Regions from separate parts of the Homo sapiens genome. Here all the other regions are linked to region 5. The links are contacts of gene promoters, found by promoter capture Hi-C in blood cells and fetal thymus (Javierre and others, 2016). All regions are on one chromosome and are shown on one strand. Each heading gives the region's core, a stretch centred on a gene start or on the middle of the fragment in contact. The rest is flanking DNA. Distances are from core to core; before and after follow the strand shown. Region 1 has its middle 130 kb from the start of CARMIL1. Region 2 has its middle 63 kb from the start of RIPOR2. Region 3 overlaps LOC124901282 (a long non-coding RNA gene). Region 4 has its middle 120 kb from the start of RIPOR2. Region 5 holds the start of C6orf62 (chromosome 6 open reading frame 62). Region 6 has its middle 170 kb from the start of CARMIL1. Region 7 overlaps GPLD1 (glycosylphosphatidylinositol specific phospholipase D1).

Region 1 (3,167 bases), core at 274-2,773, 430 kb after region 5:
CCATACCCATTAATCTAAGTGTTTTTGGGGGTCAACACAGAAGGATTACTTGAGGCCAGGAGGTTAAGACCAGCCTGGTCAACATAGCAAAACCCCATTGCTAAAAAATAAAAATAAAAAAGCGCCAGGTGCGGTGGCTTATGCCTGTAATCCCAGCACTTTGGGAGGCTGAGGCAGGTGGATCGCCTGAGGTCAGGAGTTCAAGACCAGCCTGGCCAACATGGTGAAACCCCGTCTCTACTAAAATACAACAATTAGCCAGGCATGGTGGCCTACGCCTGTAATCCCAGCTACTTGGGAGGCTGAAATAGGAGAACTGCTTGAACCCAGGAGGCGGAGGTTGCAGTGAGCTGAGCTCATGGCACTGCACTTCAGCCTGGGTGACAGAGTGAGACTCCATCTCAAAAAAAAAAAAAAAAAATTAGCCAGGCATGGCAGTATGCATCTATAGCCCTAGCTACTTGGTAGGCCAATATGTAAGTATCACTTGAGCCCCCAGTTCAAAGCTGGGGTGACCTATGATCACACCACTGGACTCCAGCCTGGGAGACAGAGCAAGACCCTGTATCTTAAATAAATAAATAAATTAATTAATTAATTAATTAAAACATCTACAAAAAATGAGAAAGTAGAAGCTTTCTTACTAAGATAAGGACAAGGCAAGGATGTCGTCTCTCACCACTGCTTTTCTACATTGCATTGAAAGTTCTAGACAATAAAATAGGGCAAATAAATAAATAAGTGGTATACAAATTGGGAAGAAAGAAGTAAAACTGTTTTTGTTCACAGATAACATGATTGCCTATGTAGAAAATCTGAAATAATCAATTCTTAAATGTGGGCTGCACATAGAGACTTCCTTTCATAGAGACTTCCTTTCAAAGAGTACAGTATGGAAATGATGAAAAAAAGAGTAACTTTAACAGTAAGGAAATGTGACAATCCGTCAATATCAACGGTGATAAATTATGTTAGAATGTAACTTTAATATGATGTGGTCTTCCTCCTGCAAACCCATAATCCCAGTCTAACCATGAGAAAAAAAATCAGATAAATTCCAGTAGAGAGGTAACCTATAAAATACATGGTCTGTACTCCTTGAAACTCAAGGTCATCCAAAACAAGAAAAATCTAAGTAAATATTACAGCCAAGAGAAGCCTAAGGAGACATGATAGCTCCTTAGCTAATGTGATGTGGTATCTTAGATGTAACCCTGAAACAGAAAAAGACATTAGGTAAAAGTAAAGAGACCTGAATAAGCTACTCAGCACATTAAGGCAAGAAAAAAAAAAGTCAAACACATAAGGAGTGGAAAGAAAAAAAATCATTTTTGAAGATACTTAGAACTGACTGTATACATAAACATTCAGAAGAACCCACATATAAATTATAAGACTCTGAGAGTTTAGTACAGCTGTTAGATATATAATCAATAGTTTAAGAAATCAATTTATTCTCACATCAGCAATAAAAAATACAAAAATTGAATTTAAAAATATATCATTTAAGATAGCAGAAAAGGCTGAGGTGGATCACCTGAGGTCAGGAGTTCGAGACCAGCCTGGCCAACATGGTGAAACCCCGTCTCTACAAAAAATACAAGATTAGCCGGGTGTAGTGGCACATGCCTGTAATCCCAGCTGCTCAGGAGGCTGAGGCAGGAGAATTGCTTGAACCCGGGAGGCAGAGATTGCAGTGAGCCGAGATCGTGCCATTGCACTCCAGCCTGGGCAACAAGAGAGAAACTCCATCTCAAAAAATAAATAAATAAATAAAAATTAAAAGATAGCATAAAAAATGAAATATCAAGAAATACATTTAACAAAAGATGATCTCTTTGGAGAAAATTATAAAACTCTATTGAGAGATATTAAGTGTATCTATAAACGAAGAGTTATATTATGTTCATAGATAGGAAGCTCAATATTATGAAGATAATCAATTTACTCCAAATTTATCTGTAGATTTACTATAGTCTCAATAAAACCCCCAGAATTTTTTTTTTTTTTTTACAGCTTAAAAACTTACTCTAAAATTTATTAAGATATGCCAAGGGCCAAAAAGAGAAAAAACATTCTTCAAGAAGAACAAGGTGGGAGATGAGAGAGGATTTGTCCTAGCAAATATCAAGACTTATTGTAAGCTATAATAATTAAGATCATATAGTGTTGGCTCAGTGGTAGATAAAATAATCAAGGGAACAGGATAGAGGCCTGGAAACAAGTCCACATATACACCAACACTTGATAAGTGACACTGTAGATCACTAGGGAAAGGATAAATGTTTCCACTAAACTTGCTGGGGTAACTGGGATCCCATATTGGAAAAATAGATTGGACTCTTTCCTTATTCCATAGATAAAAATCAATTTCAGACAAGTTAAAAGACTTACATTTAAAAGATAAACAATCAAGCTTTTGGAAGGTATTTAGGAGAAATTTTTTATAATCTTGGGACACGGTGGATTTTTTTCAACAAAACACAAAAAGCTCTACCCAAAAGGAAAATTATTGCAATTTTAGATTACACCAAAAGAACATATACACCCCAAAACACAATAAAAGAGTAAAAAGGTAAGACACATAATGAAAATTTGCAACATAAATATGACAAAGGATTTCTATGCAGAATATAGAAGAATGTCTATAAATCAATAAGAAAAAGACAATCTATAAGAAAAATGGGCAAAAAGGTTTGAATAGGTACTTCATAAAATAGAATATCCAAATTGTGACTAACTGTATAAACAGAGCTCAGCCTCACTAGCAATGGGGAAGTGAAAATAAAAACCACAATGAAGTACCACTATACTTACCAGAACAACTAAAATTAAAACAACTGCAAGTACTAAATGTTGATAATAGGAGTATGGAAACTCTCATATGTTACTAATGACAATGTAGTGAGGTTCAATCTCATTGAAAAATAGTGTGGCATTCTACACTAAAACAGAGAATACACATATACTGTCACCTAACAATCCTACTCTTAGCTAAGTCTCAACACTGGAGAAATATGTGCATATGTTCTTCAAGATACATGTACAAGAATGTACATCACAGCATTATTCATATTACATTTGAGTATATTACATTGGAAACAATGCAAATGTTCATCAACAATGAAATGATAAATTATGTATTTATATGTTATGTAAATTATACG
Region 2 (2,991 bases), core at 46-2,545, 280 kb after region 5:
GGGCTCACCTGCAGAGCTTTTAAAACTCCCAACATGCAGGCCATAGCACACAACAATGAAATCAGAATCTCTGTTGGTGGGATGCAGGCATTTGTGTTTTAAAAAACTCCCCAGGTGATTCTAATATACAGTTAAGCCTGAGAACCACTAGTTTGAGTGTTCCTAGGTAGTTAATTTAAAAAACCTTTTCCTGTATGCTCACTATGTAGTAAACACTGCGTTAGGCATTTGGAGGGGAGGTGGGGTGGGAAGGTAGTATTTGGCCCAGAAAGAGGAAGAGCCTCAGAATTTCTATATTAGACATAGTGCTTGCTTTTAGGAAACTGCAGTCCTTACAGCCTCCATGAGCAATAGCAAATGGTGATGGTATCTAAATTGTATGGTTTAAATCAAGGTTTCCCAACAGTGGTATTTTGGGTTAGATAATTCTTGATTGTGGGAGGCTGTCCTTGGCATTGTAGGATGTTTTGAAGCATCTCTGGCCCCTACCCACTAGATGCCAGTAACAAGCAAAAGCACTCCTCACTTCCTACTGCCACAGTATATAACAACCAAAAATGTCCAACATGTCCAAATGTTCCCTGGGAGTAAAGTCATCCTTTGTTGAAAACCATTGATATAGAGCTCAGTGTAGCATCCTTTGCAAGACCCCCAGGTGATCTGTATGCACATTAAAGTCTGAGAAACACGCACTGGTTTAAAGCAGTGATTCCCGAAGTGTGGCCCGTGAGCAGCATCAGCATCATCTGGGAACTTGTTGGAAATACATCCTCAGTCCCCACTCCAGACCTACTGAAACCAAAACTTTGCTTCGGTAAGTCCTTTGGGTGATTCTCACACTTAGGTTTCAGGGCCACTAACTAAAGGGGAAAAGGAGATTGGATGCACTGGAGCAATCAAAAAAGTCTTAGGAATAGAGCTTGATTTGGGCCTTGAAATTGAATAGGCGGTGGGGAGGGTATTCCAGGTGCAGAGAACAGCATGAGAGAGGATTTTCAGATGTAAATTAGCCCACACTCTTAAACTGCCAAGCCCCTCTTTTTCTCCTTTTCCCCTTAACTTCCTCAATCTGTTTGTTTTCTTGTGTTTTGGATAGAAAACGGTCTCCTCTGCAATTTATACTCCATGATGTGTTCATCAGCTTGCTCAAGTAATTCTTTGAGAATCTCAACAAAATGATCACTTGCAAAAACACAGGAGTGTGTTTTTGAAAAGTTGTGAATAATCAAATTTACCATCAGACATATGTACAAATCAGTACATATTTACAAATGTATTTCTCATTTACAAGGATTTTATATTGCAAACCATTTTTATAAAGTTAATAGCAATCCCCCAAGGGATATTTTTGGTGACTATAAATACAGATGTTTCTATCAAAAAATCTAGCATCCCAAATCTACCCTCAAATCTGCAACTAGAATGATATTTCTAACCCAGAAAATCTGATTCCTTTGTTTCCATGTTCAAAGCCTTTCAACGTCTCTCCATTGCCCCTATACAAAATGCAAACTGCTTACCATTTTTCACATGATTTTTTACCACCTGGATCCTATATATTTCTCATCTATAGACTATGGGCAAAAAAAATCTACAATAAACAAAATATCAAAAAATTAGGTGAAGACAGGCTGCTGTTATTTGTTTTATGACCCTGGGTTATTGTGGAACAGGAATTCCAATCGGCCCAAGGTTGGCCAGGACAGACCTTGTCAATGAGAGTTGACAATGGCACGGGAACAGATTGGACAATGTGGAACTTTATATGCAGTCATTTTTTTTTTTTTATTGTAGAGCTTGTATTGACTTCTTCCACAAACTATAGGAACATTTTTGGGTGAATGTACACTATAGGGATGCATATTCCTTTTGCCTCAGGCTCCAGGGTGACTCCACATAGCACTGAATCAGAGTGTTCCTTCCTCCTAATTGATCTGGGAGATCAAATGAAGGCTGATAGGGAATCTTGGGGATGTTGATTTGGATGTGAGACAGGAAACTTACAGGGTGGTTACAGGAGAATAAAAATTCCAGGCAGCAGTTTCACATAACTAGAGGCTATGGGCTGATAAGACCCTGAAAAACCAGGTGTGGACCAAGCTGACTGAGACTGACTGGACCCAACATGGAGCTGGATCCTACTTAGGTTTCACCTAGGACCTTATTATATGCTCATTAACATACAAATCACACACCTGCCAGTGCCATGACAGTTCCAAGAACATCTATACTTGCTGGAAAAGTGGGCGGCATGACAATTCTGAGAAATCTCCACCTTTTCCCAGGAATTTTCGTGAATATTCCACCCCTTGCTTTGGTTAAAGAAACCCATGAAGGTAGCAACCCCAAACCCCCTTGTGCATGACTCTTGTCTACAACCACATTCCCTTCTCTTGAGTGTGTAATTTTCCCTCTGCAACAAATCTCTGTACTTTCACTATTTTCTGACTCATCCTTTTTTTTTTTTTTTGAGACAGAGTCTCGCTCTGTTCCCCAGGTTGGAGCACAGTGGCATGATCTCGGCTCACTGCAAGCTCCACCTCCCGGGTTCACGCCATTCTCCTGCCTCAGCCTCCCAAGTAGCTGGGACTACAGGCGCCCACCACCACGCCTGGCTAATTTTTTTGTATTTTTAGTAGAGACAGGGTTTCACTGTGTTAGCCTGGATGGTCTTGATCTCCTGGCCTCCTGATCCACCTGCCTCAGCCTCCCAAAGTGCTGGGATTACAGGCATGAGCTACCGCGCCCAGCCCTGACTCATCCTTGAATTCCTTCTTGCAACAGTGTCAAGAGCCTGGACACCAGCTGGAGTCGAGGTCTCAACCATGTTTGGGGACCTCTCTGAGCCCATCAGTATCAGGTGGTGGTGAGAGAAGGTCAGCCAGCTGACTGAGATTTTTAGCTTCAAGTATGCCTTGCCCAATTCCTTGCCACCCTTCATCTTTTGCCTTCATGGCCCCAGCCACCCAGGGCCATTTGCATATCCCCAAT
Region 3 (3,034 bases), core at 175-2,674, 410 kb after region 5:
AAGACAGTTTCTTCAGATAAATAGCTACGAAGAGAATCCAACTATAATTTACTGAACTCAGAGAAGTGGATGGGAGAATACAGAGCATAAGTTAACACAGAAATGCAGTCTCAACGTGCAAATGCTTGGTGAGCTGCATCTGGGAATAAAGCTGGCAGAACCTGCTTCCTCATGGGCAGGAGAGCTAAGAGGGGAGGACTAATGTGTCAAGAGAACAGGTCAATCACCTGTAAGGCTTTGAATGAAGAAGAGAAAGGCTAGTCTGTGGGAAAGCAATCACTATACTTAGATGAGCATATTAGATACAAAAACAATCTGAGTTCCTGTAAAAAAGTCCCTCTGTATAAGCTACACAAGAAGCTCATTGCAGAGAAATAGTAACTATAATTCACTTTTTTGAGGTGCTTGCCATATACCACCATATGGCATTCTTTTAAGTTTTATGTGTTTGGCATCACTTAATCCTCTCAGCAACCTGACAAAGTAGGTAATATTTTCATCCTCATTTTAGAAATGAGAAGACCGAGGTCCAGAAAGGCTAAGAAACCTGTCGAGGGTTATGACCTAGCTAGTAAGTCGTGGAATCAGGCTTCTAAACCAGGTAGTCTATAAGGAGAGATGATGCTCTTAATCAGTAAACTTTAAGGCCTCCTTAAATGGCTGGCTAAGTGGCACTCTGTGAAATGGCCCGCTAAGTTAAAAAACTAGGAGAGGAAACCCAGAGACAGAGTCCCAAAGCTGTAATAGTTGGAAGAGAAAACTCCAACACCTTGAAGTGCTGGCGGAAGTTTACCAGTGACAGAACTATGTCTGAGGCTTCACTGACTTGAATCCACCCAGAAGATGGAAGAACATCAAAATGGGCCATCAGGGAATTACTTAGAGGTTCTCCTAGAGCAGAGTTGCCAGCTAAAAGGGTGTCCCATTAACTACTTTGGACATATTTATACTAAAAATACATTAGTTTTTTTAAATCTGAAATGCACATTTAACTGGGCATCCTGTATTTTTATTGGTCAAGCTGGCAGCCCTATCTGAGGAGCCAAGCAAGCTACAGGTGCAATACTGGTGTGAAAGGAAAATATCTTGGGCCCCCCAAATCGCTAAGCTAAAAGGGAAAGTCAAGCTGGGAACTGCTTAGGGTAAACCTGCCTCACATTCTATTCAAAGTCACCCCTCTGCTCACACTGAGATAAATGCATATCTGATTGCCTCCCTTGGAAAGGCTAATTAGAAACTCAAAAGAATGCAACCAATTATCTCTTATCTACCTATGACCTGGAAGCCCCCTCCCTGCTTCAAGTTGTCCTGCTTTTCCAAACCGAACCAATGTTCATCTTACATATGTTAATTGATGTCTCTTGTCTCCCTAAAATGTATAAAACCAAACTGTGCTCTCACCACCTTGGGCATATATCATCAGGGCCTCCTGAGGTTGTGTCATGGCCAAATGTCCTCAACCTTGGCAAACTAAACTTTCTAAATTAACTGAGACCTGTCTCAGATTTTCAGGGTTCACATTTTGGTAACCATGAAGGGATTCTGAGTGGAGATGCCCCTGACCTTTGACAAATCTATGCTTGGTACCAGCATGAGCTAACTTTATGGCTCAAACCAATAGGACAATTTGCTGAGGCCTGAGAGCACCCCCTCCAGAGAATCCCTGATGTCCCCAAATGTGGTAGAGATCTAAAGTTTATTTTGCTGGAAAAAAAAAAAAAAGCAAGTAAAATTCCAAAAAAACTTTTACTTGCTTCCAAAAAGGAAGGGAAGATTTCCTGTTTCCATGGCTATGGAAGACAGGTAACTCTTTTATGGAGTTTGAGCTCACTTCCAACAGGGAAGATGAGTTTTTTTTCTCTCTGCTTCTAGTATGGTAGAGAGCAGTCTACACCCTGAGACCCATCCCTAGCTAAGTAACTGAATTGGGGTTTGTCTTGGCTAAAGTTAAGATTAACAACCAGCTGGTCTTAATTTCTCCTTACTATTAGAGTACTCAGTAATGATATAAGTTGTGTGATTGTTTTGCTTAACTGTTTTTGTTGTTGTTGTTGTTCATTCCTGTTTTCACTGTTGTTTTGGACTTTTTCCCATTGGGTTTGATCAACTCTATCCAACTTGATCAAATCCAAAGGAAATTCCAAATTATGGGGAACAAGGCCTCTGAAGTGGCTAAATTCTCACACACACACACACACACACACACACACTCACGCACACACGTGGTATGGGGTGGAGGGGAAAAAATGGCCAGAAAAAGGAAAAAAAAAAAAAACAAAAAGAAAAATTTTTTATTCTAAGGGTCTTCATTTACATAACAAGGCCACCTTTTTGTTAGCCAGGCCAAACTGAAAGAGCAATGGCTGTACTTCTGAAATAGCAGCAATTTGTCCTAGCTGAAATATGGTAATGAGATTTTAAAAGTTTTTTTTTAAGGAGCTCAATGGTTAAAAGTCAGCTTAATTAAAACCTAACATCCAAGATGCGTGCGTGTGTGCGCACGCGCGCACGCATATGTGTGTGTTTGTATTTAAAAGGACTTCATGTTTTTGTTTTTCTCCTGGGACCTTGTCTTTTTTTTTTTTTTTTTTTGAGCAAAAGTTTTTTTCTTTTCAGTTGACAGAATTCTGTTTTCTTCATTTACTTCTACTATCTCTCCTTTCTCTTGCACCCTCTGCTGCATGGAGGACCTAAAATAGTTTATAATAGCCTGGGGTTCCTTAAAGAAAATGGAGAAGGCACCAGACTCCCTTTCCAGGGAAAACAAATTTTTTCAAGAATGTAAACAGACAAGTTTGTCTCAGTTCTCGAACAGCTTACTTTTGTATTGTGTTACTTTTTTTTTTTTTGACTAAAATAGTTATTGCAACAGAGGTTACTCTTGGGTTTTTAAGGAAGAATGTGGCTTAGACACTTAGAAATGTCTTTAATTTTTTTTTTTTTCTGAGTGCACTGTAAAAGCACCACGTAGCCTAATCTCATATTAATTCTCCCTTTTTGGAGACCCAGGATTCAGTATGGGCTCTGCCCAGAG
Region 4 (3,282 bases), core at 515-3,014, 340 kb after region 5:
TAGCCTTTTGCAACCACACTCATGGCACCCAAGTTCTTGTCCGGCATCCAGGAGGAACGAGGTTGCACAAACAAGTTGAAGATGGTAAATGCAGGGGACTTTATTGCCAATGAACGTGGCTCTCAGCAGGAAGGGGAGCCAAAGAGGGGATGGAGCAGGAAGGTAATCTTCCCCTGAAGTCTGGCTATCCCCAGTCAGACTCCTCTCTGAAGCTATGCCATCAAGCTGTCCCTCTGAAGTCAAGCTGCTTCTCTCCAACTTCCAACCATAGTCCTCGTTGTCCAGCTGCTTCTCCTTTCTCTGCTGGCCAAGCCTGGGGTTTTTATGGGCACAGAATGAGGGGCAGGGTGGGTTATGGGTGGTTTTGGAAAGGGCAACATTTGAGCAGGAAAGCAGGGATGTAAGTTCTCACTTTGGGCTGCAGTATCAAGAGTTTCAGCTTGAGAGTGGGGACCTACCCAGGGAACTGCCCTCTTCTGCGCAGAATTTCCCTGCTTCCTGTTCCTATCAACAGTAACTAGGTGTCAACTTACTAATTTAGCCACCCAGTGGCTGTCCCAAGAGCCCTCTAAATCTGCAATCACTGGAAGGCCTCACTGAAAAGTCTTCCTTTCTTCTGTGATTAAGGGCCTGATATTTTAACTTTTAGAATAACTTATTATGCAAATAGTGACCAATTGACATCAGTGGAGCAGAGTTGCCTTTATGAGTCAGAGTAGAGACAAGAGAGAGGTCTGTTTTCTCTCTTGATTAAATCAGCCCCAACGGAACAGCCCTGATTTAAACAGAAAAACATTTTTAAAGTAGTGATCTGTTTAACTTTTGTGGTGAGCTCCCTCTGGAGAAATATCTAGATGTAGAGGAGAAATATTTCCTTATTATACTTAGTTTTAAAAAGTCACTTTTTCTTTGACCTTAATGCCATGAGATTTGGATCCTTTTCAGTCTCGGCAGAAGAGAAGTGGGTTAAAGACTCCACCACCCGAAGGCAGCTTCTCTTCTTTTTACCTATAAGTAAACCATGAAATCAGAATCTCCCAGAACTTCAGAGCCAATGAGACCTCAGACATCACTGCCCCATACCTTCGTTTCATGGTAGAGGGAACAGAGCCTCAGGAGGAGAAATGTCTTGTCAACAGCCACAAAGCTAGTTAGTTCCTAAGGCATTATTAATAGTTCTGACTCATAGCTCAGGGCTCTTTCCATATTCACAAACCATTGCAAACCAGACTTCCCAGTTATAAAATATATGTGTTTTTCACCAATGTTTTAAACATTGTATTTTATGTGTGAGCAACCAGCATAACAAAGACCATCTTTTAAAACTTGTGCTATGAAACCAGAGATTCTCAAAAGTTTCATGCAGCTTGTTCCCAAAGGGACATCTGATTAGAGTAACATCTATTCTTATACATTTTTAGGATGGAGGAGGAAGCAATTGAAGGGAGATAAAGAAAGGAACAATAAGGGGTCTTTTCTCCTTGACATCTCTGCCAAGGCACCTTGACTCATGAGAGTGTCCAGCCTACTTGAGGAAAATTGTCCAAGAAGTCTAAAGGTTTCTTCCTTATGAGGTTAATTCAATTCACTTTTTAAAAATGTAGTAGGCACTGGGCATACAAAGATGAATGATACCCTTTATCCTGGGAGCTTAAAATCCAATGGAGAATGTAGAAGATACACAATACAGGTGGCCCTCCATATCTGTGACTTCTGCATACTAGGATTCAACCAACCTCAGTTAAAAATATTTGAAAAGGCTGGGCGTGGTGGCTCACGCCTGTAATCCCAGCACTTTGGGAGGCCGAGGTGGGCGGATAATGAGGTCAGGAAATCGAGACCATCCTGGCTAATACGGTGAAACCCCATCTCTACTAAAAATACAAAAAATTAGCTGAGCGCGGTGGCGGGCGCCTGTAGTCCCAGCTACTCGGGAGGCTGAGGCAGGAGAAAGGCATGAACCCGGGAGGCGGAGCTTGCAGTGAGCCGAGATCGCACCACTGCAGTCCGGCTGGGCGGAAGAGTGAGACTCCGTCTCAAAAAAAAAAAAAAAAAAAAAGGTTTGAAAAAATAAAAAATAATAAAACCACAATAAAAATAATACAAATTGAAAAGCAATACAGTATAAGGACACAGCATTTATATGTATTAGGTATTATTAGCAATCAAGAGATATTTAAAGTATATGGTAGGTTGTGCGCAGGTTACATGCAAATACTACACTAGTTTATATCAGGGATTGAGCATCTGAGGATTTTGGTGTCCTCAGGGGTCTAGAACTGATTCCCCACAGATACGGAGAGACAACTTGTCACTATACTACCAGATACAATGTGATTGGTGTCAGAGCAGCAGCAGTAAGTCATTTAGGCACCCAGAAGATGGAGAACCAATTCTGACAGGAGGAGGAAACTCAAGGCAGGTTTGGGGAGGAGGTGGCGTTTGAGCGATACTTTGAAAGATGGGGAATGAATCCAGGAGTGGAGAGGAGTGAAGAGAAGGGCATTCTTGGCCAAAGACACACAAGAGCAAAGGCTGTGAGGGAAGACGACATACCGTTATGAATGGGATGAAAGAAGGAGGGAAGGTTGGGAACAGAGGGTGCAGCCTGTTCCCAAAGGCAGGCCTGAGGGGAGGCCACTGCTGGAGGAAGCACAGCCTTTCTAGTTGCAGTAAAGAAAGAGAAGCTAGCCTTGGCATCGTGGGCCTCCTTCACCACTTGGGTGCCCTTCCTCTTCAGGAGACCACAGTTCTCAGGCTTCCTCCCTTCACCACAGCTGGCTTGAGCAGGAAGTATGGTAGATACTCATTCATACCACAGGGTGTTGCCATGGAAATGGATCAAAGTAAGGTGATATCCGAAGAGAACAGTAGCTGCCACTTAGAGCCTCAGAGAGGGGAGAAAGCCTTAATGGAGACTTCACACTCTAAGGTGTGGTCCAGAGTGTGCCTACGACCCAAGGCACCAAGACAAGACCTATCACCAGGAACTACCTCGCGAACTAAGCAAAATCTCAACAGAACAATGTACACCCACATCCGAAAGAAAATATGCTGGCGTGTAAAAAAGGAAGAAAAACTACCAAGAAAAATTAAACATTTCAGTTAACTGGCCAACGTATTTTAAAATGAAACAAACTTTTAAAAATACAAAAATATAAGCATTTATTGAGTGCTTACTATACACCAGACTTTGTGCTAAAGGTTTTTGAGGCATTATCTCCCACACACCTGGAAGTCCAAATCACAATCCAAAATGTGCTTAGTGAGAGTGGAATCTGA
Region 5 (2,883 bases), core at 129-2,628:
AACCTCATCTTTGGTCAAATAAGCCTTGCTGATAATTTAAGAAAATGTTCATTTTAAGTTGCAAAAAATACTGCTCTTATCATCCCATCCTTGACTACTCACAACTTACTGTTTGCTATTTAACTGCGGAACTAATTCTGATTAAGACCTCCACCGCCCCTAAAAATGAAACTTCCTCTAGGTCATTTTGAGTTTTTAAAAACTGTACTTCTATACAAGGCAAAATGAACTCTAAGTAAAAAAGAAAATCACACTTCTAAACACAAATTAACCATTTCAGTATTTAATTGCTCCTAAAAGGTGTATTCTACTTCATTAAATGTAAGAGAAAAGGTTACCTACATTACGCAGTTTAAGAAACAGGATAAACTTTAGCATATAAACAGTCTGATTACAATTTCACACTTTCAACCATCTTATTTATACTCTACATTAGATAATCTTTAAATTCCATCATAAGGTTTCCCATGTTAACTCCATATAAAATTTTGTAATCTTGCCCACCCCATGTCAACTCAGTGTATACTACTACTAAGCTTCAGACTCAAATTTATTTCCAAACCAAAGAACGCTCAAGGGTCTTTTCGCATGCTGCAACTGCTCAATTCACAGAATCACCCCTAAGGGTGAAAAAACAGAGCATACAAAGCAGACTTTTTTTCAACCACTCTTTAACCTAATATTCATAATAATTTAAGAGTAACAAATAATATACACTTACAAAAATTACTTGTGCTAATTCACCATTAAGAACTTTAAATTACCTTCTCCTTGAATACAAAGGCAATATACATCTTGAAGTCAAACTGGTCAGCTAGAGATTCTTTTTTCTTTCTAAGCTGAGCACGTAGTCTGTTCAGAGCTTGTTTCTTCCGGGAGTTTGGGTCCCCCATTTTGAAATACAGGTGGTACTAAAGCCTTTGGAAATTGTCACTAAACTATGGGCACTTTTTCTTAAGACTCAAGTACAACAGAAACAAGTCATTTTTTTTCCTGCTAATATGATTGATTAGCGAAAATCACGACTATAACCCAAAAACTGCACCTTCTGTCAATATTAGCAGACTGTCATATTACAGGGTCAAGAAACAAAAGCTGCTGTCCAGTCATGTTTGGACAATAACGTTTGGGGTCAGACGGGAAAAAGGGAGGAAAGAAAGGAAAGAAAGAGGAGAAAATAACTAACTTTCTGGAAAACACATTTGGCTTAACTGCCAAAATAAAGGCTTTGCGGAGAAATGAAAAGCCTATAATCAGGATTTAGGTGTGCAATAAAACACAGCTGACACCAGACCAATCCCTAAAATCCATCCGGATTTTCCCCCCTTTTTAGAAAAGGGATTAAGGAACAGGGAGGGGGAAGTGTGATCCTTGCTTTCCAAAAAAAAAAAAAAAAAAAACTCACCAAAACCAAAACCAAAACCAAACACCAAAACAGGGTAGGTGAATGAAACTGAAATATCCAATTAGATTTTACCCAGCCAGCTCCATGGCTGTAGTACCTAATTCTTAGTTATTTCAGATTTCACTATTGCTATGTATTGTCAGTGCTTGTTATTGATTACACTTGGTGGTGAGCATAGAGAAAAGTGCAAAATCGGTAGAGAAGGAAAGGGAGAGGTACAGGGTTTCCCTGCAATCAACTACAGTGTATACCGGGGGCGGGCAGCTGTGGCCCAAAGGAGCCATGAGAAAAAACAGCGGAGTCATTACCAACTTCCCCATCACCCACATTTTCACCCTCAGGCGGCTGCTAACGCTGCTGCCAAGGAGAATCATGACGGCAGAAGGAAAAGGGGTATATAATACGGTATTAATTATTCCGGCTCTGTGGTTAGACCTGATTAATGCCCGGGTTCCCAACACCCCCAGCCTGCAACTAGTCCTACATTCCCCAAGGGAGACTTCCCTGTGGATCTGCCCCCGTTCAAAATGGTGGGGAGTGCGATTTATCTTCTTGTGAGCATTGCCGAGGCAAAGGTGGCGGGTTCTTCTCCCAAATCCCAGGCGGTGCCCGGAGACCACCTGCCTTCCACCCCCGCAGGTCCCACCCCCACCCCTTGCCTTCAGCGGCAGCGACTCACTCGCACCACGGGAGACACAGGATCACTCAGGTTTTCACTCATTTCATCGTGGAAACAATTCCCGCCCGGGTGGAGTGGGCGGGAGAGGGTAAATGGGAAGGTTCAGTGGGGGAAAAAAAGAAAATAATTGTGTTAATATTACTTCTAAAGTAAGCCCACCCACCCTCCCCCCAAAAAATTAAGTTCCCGGATTAGCTCTCTCTCACGTTGAACAGACCATGTTTCCAGAGTTTGGATTGTTTAGGGTGGGGTCGTTAGTTGTTTCCCGAGGGGCAGGGGGTGGAATTGAGGCAGCTAGGGCGGGGTGGGTGACGGGGAAATCCCCTCCCTGTCCCCGCGGAGCCCGGGACTCACGGACCGACTCTAGGGCGGGGTTTGGGCCCTCTAGCCGCAGCCTGCGGGCGGAGCGGTGGCGGCGGCGGAAGAGGCGGCGGCGGCGGGGGCGCTGCTGGTAGCACGGGCAGGAGCCATGTCAAGAGAAAACCACCAGCCAACTGAGCCCCTCCATCCCCGCTGCAGTGCGCACCGTGACTGGACCGCCCGCGCTGCTGCCGCCGCTCAGCCCCCACCTGGGACCCATAGTCTGGCTCGGCGCCCTGGGCGGCAACGGAGGGGAAGGACGCGGAGACAGCGGCAACAGGGAGAGAAAAAGAAAAAGAGGAAAAACAAAGAGAAAGATGGGGAGTTGGATTGGTACTGGCGGCGGAGGGGGAAGGGAAAGGAAGCCCTGCGCTAAGGGTCAGCAAAGTAACCCCCCAAAATAAAGTTATTTCAGTTCAAGCATCTGCTCTTGAGTCTT
Region 6 (3,168 bases), core at 93-2,592, 390 kb after region 5:
CTAGAGGTCCCCAACTAGAGGACTCTCTTCTGGGCACACTGCTCCCTGATATGAGCATCCACAGTGCCAAGGGGATGTGTCTACATTGAGGCTGCACACACCCCATTAGGAACCATATTCCAAGAGCACCTAAGCCTGGATGACCCACTTCAGGCCTTTCCTGTTCTGCTCTACGGTCTACATGGTGAATCCAGATGATTCTCTTTCTTGGCTCCTCCTGAGGTGCTCTCAGATCTCAACATTTCCTTCATGCTCCATCATGTTTTGAGCTAGAAACCTTAGTTGGTAATCTGCAACTTACAAATCTGGTTTCCCAATAAGATTGCATGCTTCTTGTGGGGAGGGATCATGTCTCAATTACATTTGTATTTACTCTTACAGCATTTAGCAATGTGCCATGCGTGATACTTGGTATCACTTTCATACAAAATATTACCCGTAAATTTTCCACCACTGAAAGTCATTGGAAAGCCTGATGCTCCTCCAGCAAAATCACTCATCATTAGAGCAACCTTCATAGGCAGCCTTCCCCCATTGGGTCTGGTGCAGTCTACTATATTGAGTATTTTATGACCTGTGGAGAAACAAAGAGGTATAGATATTCAAGGTGAAATCTTGAACACCCATAGTTTGAATTCCAAGACAAGGACTTCTGTATACAGTCTGTATAATTGAACTTATTTGATTATAGAAGAATTGATTATATCAAAGGAAAAACAAACAGTAAGATTTTAAAACTTAAAGCTTTCAATAGTATATTTTCTGAATTTTCAAGCGACTAAATTCATCCCATTTGACTTGGTGGATACTAGGTGTCTCATGAAGACTTTTATCTTAATTCCACTCTAGCTCATAGATAGACTGCTTTCTTCTGTCAACTTTTTCCAGGTGTTGAGCCCAAAGGATCAGAAAAAAGTGGATTAACATACTTCCCTGTACCTTTTGCAAATTACATGCAAAGCTCATATTCAAATGATTGTTGGGGCAGTAAGGCCATCTTTTCATATGAAAAGCAGTGCATGATTATATTACATGATATTTCTAGGTGAAAGTAATAAAAGACATTTATTTAATAAATGTAGTTTTGAAGAAATCACTATAGGTGGAATGTAAAATATCTATTGCCTTATGAAAGAAATCTTTGCTCCTGTCACTATCTAGATGACATTATTTCTAATTTGTTTTCTGGAAAAATTATTTGAAAGATAGCTCCATATTTCTAGAACAAGGATATAACACGCTATATTCTTTCAAAATGGAGCTAAAAGATGAACATGTGATGAAATTTCATATAGATATTACCATCCTTCCTATTAAGAATGTTTTCCATTTTTCGTTATCAATGGGGATAAAAACATACCTTTGTACTCCACAATAATGCAAGTGTCCATCTCAGGATGAACACCGTCCATCAAGATCATGAATCGAAGATTTTTGTCCACCTGGAATTTAACAACAAAACCAACAACTGTGAATTTCAGTTTGGTTTTTAATTCAGTATTTGAGAAGGTAATCACCTGTTCTGGAAAGACTGGTCAATTGAACCTCACATTTGAAGAAATTTCCTTATTCAGAACTAGATTTATTACCTGTTCTGTAGAGTTGTACTATAATAGTATGGGTTAATAGAAAGAAAATCATCTTTGCCCAGGACAGTCTGCCTAACATTTGAATCACAAATAGAGGTTGTGTTTATGCAGTATCAGGGACATACCACATTGACCCATTTTTTCCTTAATCTTACGGTGACTATCTCACCTAACATTCATCACAGAAAGCATAACTGGAAAGCATGGAAAGAAAGCAGATTTCTGACCTGCTGCCATATTCCAAATGGCACGACATTGATATTAGTCAACTGGACACCGCTCTGATTCAGATTCCAAAATACAGGCCTTTCTGTGTTTCCAACATAAATGGGAATATCTGGTCTTCTCCCAGCAAGCTTTTTCAGTGTGGGGTAACTAGGATAAGACAGATGGAAAGGTTGAAAAGAGAAAAAAATAGTGTCATCTAGTATGACAGACAGTTTGTTCCTTATACCAACATATTGACAGAGAAGTGAGGAATTGAAAAACTGGACTCTCACCAGAGTCCAGAGAAAAGTTTCTGTTCAAGGATGACTGTGAAAGTGACGGGAGATTCTGAGGGGATTCATCTTTGTTGTTAGAACATATCAAATGCTCATGGTGTGGACATCAACCAGGTAGGTAAGTTCCATTTTCCACAGTGATGCTGCTTGAAGGAGGGGTAGTTCTAACAGTAGGCACAGACGAGAAAAAGTCATGCTGTAGAGGAAAGAAATGAAGATCACGGAGATCCTCATTTCTTTGCATGCTTCAAGCAGTAGCTCTCAGTAAGAGAGAGGACTGGGACATAGTACAGGACAAAAGCCCATGTCTCGGACCATTTTGGGGGTTGGTTTTTCAACCTTCAAAGATTCTGTCCCTTTTTAAGGATAAATAATATATTTTGTATATTAAAGCCACACTTTAACAGACTATATTATTCATCCTTAAGGAGGGACAGAATTACCAGCTAGGCAAGACAGTAAAATTTAGTGTTGAGGAACTACATCCAACATTTGTAGTAATCCCAACTCAGTGCACAACAATCATCCAAGTATTTTTGACTATCTAGACATATTAAGTCGGCTTTTATTTATTGAGCATTCATTATATAACAGAGTTATTATACCACTGTAGGGTGTGGTAGAAAGTTGAATAAACAAACAAATGATTACACATCTATTATATTTCAAACTTGGTGCTGGGGCAGTTTTACATACTATGTTAGTCAATTCTTATCAAAAAGCTATGAATTTTTTGTTTTTGTAGATGAGGAAACATTCAGAAATATACAACACACAGTAAACTGGTATTCAAATTTGGGTTTTCTGATTCTAAACCTAGTGCTTCTTCTATAAGAAGAAAGTTTCTAACTTTAATGAACATATTATCTGGTTTAAGAATCAGACTTGTACACAGAGTATAAGATCAGGTAAAATAAGATATATAATCATAGGAAAAGTATTTTAAAAATCTGCATATCAACACTTGGCTGTACTAATATTCAAGTTCCAGCATTGCGTTAAAAGCTATCCAAATAAGTAGAATCTGGAAGGAAGTGAGGGGAGCAACAACCTTTCTCCCCAAAAAACAAAAGATT
Region 7 (2,854 bases), core at 2-2,501, 290 kb before region 5:
TATATAAACATTGAAAAGGTATTAATCCTCATTAAGAAAGGATTATCGGCCAGGTCCTGTGGCTCACACATGTAATCCCAGCACTTTGGGAGGTCAAGGTGGGTGGATCACCTGAGATCAGGAGTTCGAGACCAGCCTGGCCAACATGGTGAAACCCTGTCTCTACTAAAAATACAAAAATTAGCCGGGCGTAGTATTGTGCACCTGTAGTCCCAGCTGCCTGGGAGGCTGAGACAGGAGAATCACTTGAACCTGGGAGGCGGAGGTTGCAGTGAGCTGAGATCACATCACTGCACTCCAGCCTGGGCAACAGAGCAAGACTCCGTCTCAAAAAAAAAAAAAAAAAAAAAGGACTATCATCCTTAGCAAACTAACACACGACCAGGAACAGAAAACCAAATACCAAGTATAGCATGTTCTCACAAGTGGGTGCTAAGTTAAAAGAACTTATGAACACAAAACAACACACACTGGGGTCTACTTGAGTGGGGAAGGTGGGAGGAACAGAAAAGATAAAACCTTCACATGTACCACTGAACCTAAAATAAAAGTTAAAAAGGACTAAGTCACAAGTGATTTGGAATGTGAGGTTATCCCTCACCCCCATGCTTTACTCTGTACTATTTTTCCTCCCTCAGTTTCTTTTTTTTTTTTTTTTCTGTATACTATGCTTTCTATTATACTTTGATTGGCATGGGCCAATCTGTTATTTTTAAGTTCAACTTTTTTTTAACTTTTAAGTTCAGGGGTACATGCGCAGGAAGTGCTGGTTTGTTACATACATAAAGGTGTGTCATGGGGGTTTGTTACACAGATTATTTCATCACCCTAAGTATCCATTAGTTATTTTTCCTGATCTCTCCCTCCTCCCACCTTCCGCCCTCTCATAGGCCCCAGTGTGTGTTGTTTCCCTCTATGTGTCCACGTGTTCTCATTTAGCTCCCACTTACAAGTGAGAATATGGAGTGTTTGGTTTTCTGTTCCTGCAATAGTTTATGAAGGATAATGGCCTCCAGCTCCATCCATGTCCCTGCAAAGGGCATGATCTTGTTCTTTCTTTATGGCTGAACAATTCTTTTTTTAAAAAAGGATGTTTTTAGGAGGAATTGTGTACAGAGACTGTTCTAACAGATAACCACAGAGGGACCTTTCCAGCCATTGGAAAGACATTCAAGAGGAAGAGGAAATAGGTTGTACAGCAGGTCTGACTACAGGCAATAAGTTGGGAAAGAAGAAAGGTTTAGATGCAAAGGGAGCGAGGAAGTAAACTGTGGAAGGAGACATGAGTAAGCAGAATGTCTGCTATTTCACATATTTCTGGTGCAGTCATATATTTACTGTATCAGATTTCCAGAGGGTGTGGCTGTTAGTGTGTCTCTCTACTCCCAGGAGCCCCATGTCTATCAGGATCTACCACCGCTCCACTGGATGTGCCACTTTGTCCATCAAAATGCTCACCATGGATGTGATTCAGCATGAGAGAGGTGGGCAGAGTGGGGAAATGCAGTGAAATCTTCAATCTGAGCCAAGGCTATAGACGTGAAGTGCCCCGGAGAGTCGGGCTCCCAAAGAACTCCTTCCAGCAGCAATGACGACTTGGTTCTGTAAGGGACACAAGACAGAATTCATGGCTCATTCATAACATCTATTGAGTTCCTATGGTAGTCCAGGCATCATGCTATGCTCTAGAAATATAAAGATGAATAAGACACTGGCCAGATCCCCTGGCTTGAACTCAAATGCCACTTTCCCTTTGTTTACAGACCGCTTTCTCACATCTATAAGTTCTGAAAACCGCAGCTAAGGATGCTCACCCCAATCCCTATTCTGGCACATAAATCATAAAGGAGAAGTAGGGCAGTGCATGCTTAGTTCTGGTACAATGTGGAAAACATATCTTGAATAGTAAGGACTTCCCCTAGAAGCTGGCTTTGTCAATGTGTTTAGCGTACCTCCCACCTACCCTGCTGCTTAAAACATTTTAGGACCCATCTTTCAGAATTGCCTTCAAAACCTGCTGCAAGTTTTTAAAACATTTTCTTCTTTTTTGAAACAGAGTCTTGCCCTGTCACCCAGGCTGGAGTGCAGTGATGTGATCTCAGCTCACTGCAACTTCTGCTTCCTAGTTTCAAGTGATTCTCATGTCTCAGCCTCCCGAGTAGCGGAGATTACAGGCATGTGCCACCACATCTGGCTAATTTTTGTATTTTTAGTAGAGACGAGCTCTCACCATGTTGGCCAGGCTGGTCTCGAACTCCCGACCTCAAGTGATCCACCCGCCTCGGCTTCCCAAAGTGCTGAAATTACAGATGTGAGCCACCATGCCTGGTCTTTAAATATTTTCAGTGGTGGCAAATCTTCATACTCCGAGGTCGGATTTGATTTGTGGAAACTGACAAAAGTTATTCTGAACCAAAGCTGGCACATGAGGTACGGGTGATCAAACTGGCTGACAGTATTTTGGTCAGAGCAGGATATGACAGTTTCTTATTTAATTTTGAAAACTACTGATGAAATCTAGAAATAATAATAATAGCTAAAATTTGTGGAGGTTGTATCATGGGTCAGACACTATGCTTAGCCCTGTGCTTATCTTATCCCTTAATACCCAGTGTCAATTAATAGGGAAAATCTACACTTAAGAAAACAGCATCAAATGGTACTTTATTCTCCCTCTCTTTCCCAATTTATGGAATTACTCATTTACTAAATTTGCCTGGCCTTCGGCTTCACTCTGTTTTGTCAGAGTCTAGTCATCTTTCCAGATGCAGCTCCGGGCCCATGATCTCTGCAGGCCCTTCCCTGACTCCACCAGCAGAGACTTCTGCTGCAGTTGCTGTCTGACCTCGTTTGG

Evidence for each region. Contacts are between HindIII fragments. The CHiCAGO score rates a contact against its expected background, and 5 or more counts as called.
Region 1: a contact is called between a fragment that was not itself captured here and the fragment with the promoter of C6orf62 in region 5, in 8 of 17 cell types (fetal thymus, neutrophils, total B cells and 5 more). The highest score is 7.9, in fetal thymus.
Region 2: a contact is called between a fragment that was not itself captured here and the fragment with the promoter of C6orf62 in region 5, in 11 of 17 cell types (neutrophils, naive CD8 T cells, non-activated CD4 T cells and 8 more). The highest score is 21.7, in neutrophils.
Region 3: a fragment that was not itself captured here is called in contact with the fragment with the promoter of C6orf62 in region 5 in 1 of 17 cell types (neutrophils); the score reaches 5.1 in neutrophils.
Region 4: a contact is called between a fragment that was not itself captured here and the fragment with the promoter of C6orf62 in region 5, in 2 of 17 cell types (naive CD8 T cells and total CD8 T cells). The highest score is 5.9, in naive CD8 T cells.
Region 6: a fragment that was not itself captured here is called in contact with the fragment with the promoter of C6orf62 in region 5 in 2 of 17 cell types (activated CD4 T cells and naive CD8 T cells); the score reaches 5.5 in activated CD4 T cells.
Region 7: a contact is called between a fragment that was not itself captured here and the fragment with the promoter of C6orf62 in region 5, in 7 of 17 cell types (total B cells, naive B cells, fetal thymus and 4 more). The highest score is 9.9, in total B cells.

The regions. Positions count from the first base shown.
Region 1 is chr6:25,144,528-25,147,694 of GRCh38, forward strand. No RefSeq gene overlaps it. Among named protein-coding and RNA genes, the nearest start is that of CARMIL1, 130 kb to the right of the region's middle. The HindIII fragment of the contact is 1,781 bases long and covers 634-2,414 here.
Region 2 is chr6:24,997,104-25,000,094 of GRCh38, forward strand. It overlaps a transcript of RIPOR2 not described here. Among named protein-coding and RNA genes, the nearest start is that of RIPOR2, 63 kb to the left of the region's middle. The HindIII fragment of the contact is 8,245 bases long and covers 1-2,991 here.
Region 3 is chr6:25,127,864-25,130,897 of GRCh38, forward strand. All of the region lies in intron 2 of LOC124901282 (a long non-coding RNA gene), which reads left to right. It also overlaps the pseudogene CMAHP. Among named protein-coding and RNA genes, the nearest start is that of CARMIL1, 150 kb to the right of the region's middle. The HindIII fragment of the contact is 6,422 bases long and covers 1-3,034 here.
Region 4 is chr6:25,053,542-25,056,823 of GRCh38, forward strand. No RefSeq gene overlaps it. Among named protein-coding and RNA genes, the nearest start is that of RIPOR2, 120 kb to the left of the region's middle. RefSeq lists enhancers at 565-734, 2,715-2,844, 2,985-3,044. The HindIII fragment of the contact is 4,254 bases long and covers 1-3,282 here.
Region 5 is chr6:24,717,776-24,720,658 of GRCh38, forward strand. It overlaps C6orf62 (chromosome 6 open reading frame 62), which reads right to left and starts at 1,379. Exons shown (of 5, transcript NM_030939.5): 1 at 765-1,379. The coding sequence starts at 893. RefSeq lists an enhancer at 2,060-2,853 and a silencer at 2,423-2,592. The HindIII fragment of the contact is 3,349 bases long and covers 535-2,883 here.
Region 6 is chr6:25,108,140-25,111,307 of GRCh38, forward strand. It overlaps the pseudogene CMAHP. Among named protein-coding and RNA genes, the nearest start is that of CARMIL1, 170 kb to the right of the region's middle. The HindIII fragment of the contact is 1,201 bases long and covers 743-1,943 here.
Region 7 is chr6:24,427,517-24,430,370 of GRCh38, forward strand. It overlaps GPLD1 (glycosylphosphatidylinositol specific phospholipase D1), which reads right to left. Exons shown (of 25, transcript NM_001503.4): 25 at 1-1,602. The coding sequence ends at 1,516. Among named protein-coding and RNA genes, the nearest start is that of MRS2, 26 kb to the left of the region's middle. The HindIII fragment of the contact is 4,577 bases long and covers 1-2,854 here.